Regions from separate parts of the Homo sapiens genome. Here region 1 is linked to region 2. Evidence: promoter capture Hi-C in 16 types of primary human blood cells and fetal thymus (Javierre and others, 2016). All regions are on one chromosome and are shown on one strand. The core of a region is centred on a gene start or on the middle of the fragment in contact, and the rest is flanking DNA. Distances in the headings are between cores, read along the strand shown. Region 1 has its middle 3.9 kb from the start of ZMAT1. Region 2 holds the start of ARMCX1 (armadillo repeat containing X-linked 1).

What was found. The method cuts DNA at HindIII sites, captures the fragments that hold promoters and counts their contacts. A CHiCAGO score of 5 or more calls a contact.
Region 1: a fragment that was not itself captured here is called in contact with the fragment with the promoter of ARMCX1 in region 2 in 1 of 17 cell types (monocytes); the score reaches 5.8 in monocytes.

Annotation. Positions count from the first base shown.
Region 1 is chrX:101,934,558-101,937,257 of GRCh38, reverse strand. No RefSeq gene overlaps it. Among named protein-coding and RNA genes, the nearest start is that of ZMAT1, 3.9 kb to the right of the region's middle. The HindIII fragment of the contact is 2,051 bases long and covers 232-2,282 here.
Region 2 is chrX:101,549,114-101,551,813 of GRCh38, reverse strand. It overlaps ARMCX1 (armadillo repeat containing X-linked 1), which reads right to left and starts at 1,267. Exons shown (of 4, transcript NM_016608.2): 1 at 1,154-1,267; 2 at 790-843; 3 at 181-245. The HindIII fragment of the contact is 13,633 bases long and covers 1-2,700 here.

The DNA.
Region 1 (2,700 bases), core at 8-2,507, 390 kb before region 2:
AAGAACAACTCTAGACACCACCTGGAAGGAAAGTTGATGCCTTTTAAAGCAAGACCTGCATGGCGATATAAAGAGGATGAATAACATAAAATATAAAAATCAGAGATCAGAAAGGCACATGAAACAAAGGAAAATGGAGTGATGAAATCGTTCACCGACTCCATACTCCACAGAATGATTAAGTGACCAATGTCTAACTACATTCTTCCTTTAACCAATTATAAAGAAGCTTAGGTTAAAGGAAGACACTTCCCTATGGTTAAAGTCAAACAGTGAGAATGTTCTGGAACTTTCTAGATGTTTACATAGAAAGGAAACATTAAGAGTGATTCTGGCATAGATCTGGATACGAAATCACATGCTAGGATATTTCCTTCAGACCCTCTCTAGGCTGACAACATGTGCGTGTGTCTGTGATGAGGGTAGGGAGCAGAGAACAAGAATGAGAATATATGAAAGTGTACACTATGAGACAAATACATTAGGCATACACAGATCTATTTTTATAAAAGTTCTGTATAACTTCTTTTTCATTTAAATATATGTATGTATATACATTTGACAACATTTCATATCAATAAAGATAAATTTCTATAACTTCCATTCCCTACCAGGTACATCCTGTACTATTGTAATTTTATCTATCACTATTAATCCTGAAACAATGGGGAAATATATGCATTAATTAGCATATAGTTTCATCTTAAGCCTGACTTACCACAGGCTATCTACTCATAGTATTTTCATATATACTTTCCAGATATATTTTATGTGTGTTTATATATAATTCCAAGGCTATATGTTCATATGTGCAAATACATTTTTGTTCAAAATTGAGTCACATTATACATACTGCTATTGTCTGAATGTTCCCCAAAATTCATATGTTGAAACTTAATTGTCAATGTAATAGTGTTAAGTGGTAGTGCCTTTGGGAGGTGATTATTTGTATATCTCAATGTATCTTTTTATTTGTCTTTAATTTTAGTATTGTTAAACAACTTTGGATGTTTGCCATTGCTTCTCACTTTTGAATCATTTGTTAATAAAATTAAACATTACTATTATACCTAGTCAGATTCATGCCTATGTCAGTCATATTACTTATATGCTATTAAATTCTGTTTGGATTATTTCTCCCATTTTCTGATGCCTTTAAATGTATTGTGTTTGTTGATAATGGCTTTTCAATTTCCCCATATTATTCCAAATGAGGTATTTTATATTTCACTGCAAATATAGTGAAATGACCACTGGTATGCTTTTTGTTTTTTGCTGATTTCTCACATATGCAAAAATATTCTCTCATTTCTTTTTAGCACCTCTACCCCTACCTTACACGCAACTTCCCTCCCCTAATCCCACCCTTGTTTCCTTTCTATGATTTGGGGGATTGGTAGTTGAAATTCATTTCAATTAATACAGTCTCCTCCCTGTGGGTCAATGATATAAACAGACCATTTTAATCAATAAGTAAAGAACCATGGAGAAGTTATTTACACTCATGAGACTGAGTTTTGCGTTTTTAAATGGAATTAATGAGCCCAATATAACATCACTTTTGTGAGAAGACTGGGAAATTCTAGGAAACATCTGGCCCATAGCAGGCTTTCCTTAATTGCTACTCTGTGCTATATTCCACCTCCTCTTTCCTGTGAGATAAATTACATTGGCATTCACTTAATAACATTACTGTCATTGAGAGCAATGATAAGTATAAGAGGAGGGAAAGGGAAGTGTGTGCTTATTGTCACAGTGCATGACTGAGGTTTGGTGGCATTTTCATGTTATGGCATGTCACCAAATGCAGCTGAAGGATGGGGAGAAAATTAACTAATAATTTTATTTTATTTTGTGCATTATCCTACCACTTCTTTTTACTGTTAAAGTGGCAGAGACAGAATTTTCCGTGGATCCTAAGAAGGACAAAGTAATTCCATAATTTAATATATATTTGTTGACTGATATAGTTGTTACTGTCAGACAGAGGTCAGGGAACTGCAGAAAACCACTGCTAATCTCACAGATCCTCCAAAGCCTTTGAGTACAAGACTTACAGAAGAATGCTAGGGTCTGAAAAAAAATTTGTTTTATATCTGCCAGATTCCACATAAAGAACAGTTTTTATTTCCTTTCTATTTAAAAAATATCATACAAATACATAGCATTGGTGATACCTAAACCATATTCAGAATCCTGCTGGCAAGAAGTTTAGGAAATGTAATTCACAGGATTCCAGCTTCTGCAACAAAGGAGAGAACATAGACGAGGATGAAAAAGCTTCCAACTGCCAGATGACCTTATCTGCGTAAGTCTCCTGGATTTTACTTCTTTAACCTTTCTGATTCTTTTAAGTACCTGATATTCTACATTAAATATTTTCTGTTTGAAATACCTAGTGTAGTTTCTTTTTTGCTGACTGAATCTTGAGTGATGCCCACTCCTCCAGAGATTCTGAATGAATATTTCTTACCTAAGTGGATTGTGATTCATATTTCAAAAAACAATGTTTTTGAGAGATCCCTCCATATCAGAAGGAATAAAATCACACCCCATTTGTATGCTTGCCTTGTCCTACTAGCTACTTGAGCAGATTATTTCTTGTGTCTGGCCTATCCAGTAATTTCCTTAACGAGTAAAATTTGATCTAACTTACATAAGGACAAGGTAGAAGTCTAGAGAAGCTACCCATTGACTCAG
Region 2 (2,700 bases), core at 18-2,517:
CCCTTCTCAGCTATTTTCTTCCCTGTCTTGTACTTGCAGAACAATTTCTTTTGCAAGCTCCGAAATGGTGTAGATAAGAGGGAAGGAGGGGGATATGGAAGGGGTCCACGGGCCCATTCGAGTTGCAGTCGCCACCATGCTCCACCCCCAAATAATGCCATCACCCTTATTATGACCTACTTGGTTCTTGACAACTTTGCGTTTCTTCCTGCTCCAAGGGTTGGACTGGCCTCCGGCCCCAAGATCTGCAGACACAGGCAACAAGGCAGAAACTGAAGGCTCAGCGGACAGAAAAGCACTTCGGGGAGTCCCAATATCCACTTCTCCTAATTCAGGGTCCTGGCTGTCAATGGATTTTACCTTTTTGTTTCTCACCCTACCCTCACTTCTCTGGACTCCGCTGACACCAGCCCTGTCGCTTGGTAGTGTTCCCCTACCCCCGTCCCCGCCCCCGGCCCTCACTCCCTCCCGCAGCCCCAGCGGTCGGCCATTTTCCCAGCAAAACCACACCCCTTTCAAACCACTGGAAGCGGGGCGGGGCGAGGGGGGATATGGAAAATCCGAGGAGAAAAACAAAACCAACCGATCTCTTCTATTCCTCTCCCCAACGCACCCTACCCGCAATCACAAGCACTTTTCCTGCAGCCACTGTTACATCCTCTTTTACTGAAGAAAAAAAAAATGGCAGGAAGATTGCTTGAGAGTCGGTAAAGGGCCCAAGTTAAGGCAAGGACCTCAGTCATCCCAGTCCTTCTGGGCGCCGCGGGACAGCTCCAGCTTTACACTGACCTGCAGGGATTCCAGGCAGACTATTCCTTTGTTCCCAAATGGCACAGCGTCCTACTGAAAGAAAAGGGGTATGACTGTCAGACGCACAGCCCCAAGATTCTGGCTTGGTAGATGGGCCAGCACACAGGACATGAATCCGAATATCCGCCCTCCCTGATTCAAGGCCCTGGATGTTAAAGGTCCCACGACGCCCGAGTCTGGGGTCGCCCCTGGAATCCGGCCCCAAGGTCTACCATTTTTGTTCTAGAAAGGGCAAGGGATACTGCAAGGGTTTGGAGAAAGTGAACTGTGCTCCCCCTTCGGCCTCCACGGTTCACTGCCCGCGCCGCAGGGATCCCCTGGCAACGCCCATCCACACACAAACCTGCTGGGATCCAGGCAGAACCTCGTCCTCCTTCCCCCAGGCCACAGGCCCTCTCGCCCTCTGGGCTATAGGAAGAGTGCAACCGGACCAAACGAAGACTAGGATTAGAAGGACGTCTGCACGCGTCGGCTCCAGCTCACGTGAGGGCCACGTCAACCATGAGATCAGGACCCCAATTACCACTCCCATCAGCAGCGCCGCAGAAGCCGGCCCTCCCCTTCCTTCCCTGACACATCAGGTCCTGTCACTCATTTTCCTCTTTGCCAACCCCGGAGACTAGAAGTAGCTTCTCTTTGTGGTGAATTTGCCTTTCTTTGGTTTACAGGGAGAGGCTGTATCTGCTCCCGTGTCCGTTGGCCTTTTCTTCCTCTTCGAGGAATAATTTTTTATCTTCTCTAGTCCCAGTCCAACTGTCTCTCTCTATACCTCCCCCCATCACAAGTCATGAATGTCCTATTTCTTCTGCACCCCTGTAAAATGTGGAGCAAGATGTTAGAAAAGGAGATAGATCGTGGGAGTGTCTTATTTAAACTTTTCTGCTCATTTGTTTTTAAATCAGTAACGCATTACTTTTATATTGAGAAAATAAAATGATGCTATTTTCCTTTGAGTGGAGAGTTTAAACGGGAGAGAAAACCCAAAAGGCCTCATTAATTTCGTTATTTTATTTGTAACAGTAGGAAAATATTTCTACTGGTTACAGCCAATTAGTAGCTTTTAAAACAAAATAACTCATTTTAAAATTGAAAAGTGGGCTGAGGTGGGTGGATTGCTGGAGCCCAGGAGTTTAAGGCTGCAGTGAGCTATGATGTCACCACTGCACTCCAGCCTGGGTGACAGAGAGCAAGCCTCTATCTCTTAAAAAAAATGGATTTTTTTTACATGATCTATGAATTACTCCACAAAGAGACGACCAGTTGTCTAATCTTGGCCATTTTACACAAATAATTCCTTACTTTTTCTATTTTTGAATCAACTTGCAATTTGATAAGTTAAAGCAACACAACCCTGTCTTATTAAATTAAAGAAAAGCATGTATTTAACGTCCCAAAGTCTTGACCGACTGTTATATGAACCTCTTGTGATTTGATGGCTACTCTGATCACCTGCCTCTGAATTGAATTCCAGTCTACCAAGGCTGAGGCACCTGAGGGTGTGAGGGATGCAGCGATGTTCTAATCCTTCCTGCCCTGTCAAGAGCGGAAGAAGGTGCTGCCCTCCCACCCTTCCACATTCCATAGCCTCTCATCCCCTGTATTCAGGCACCCATCTATTGTTCACTCCAAAAATATATATAGATGAGTGACCAAGGTGGTAAATGCCACGTTTACTCAGGTGACCAATCAGAGTAAATACCTTTGGCTCCTTCCCTTCCTTCCCCAAATTCCCACAGAGGTAACAGCAATGCATCGAAGGGCTTTCTGTTCCTACCTACCCCTCTGCCCTTATTCATGGTGCCTGAGTGAGCATTGCTCCTAATACTGTGTGCTGCCACCACCTGACCTGAGAGGTGCAGCCCGCTGGGCTTCTTGCCTCTGGCTTCCTTA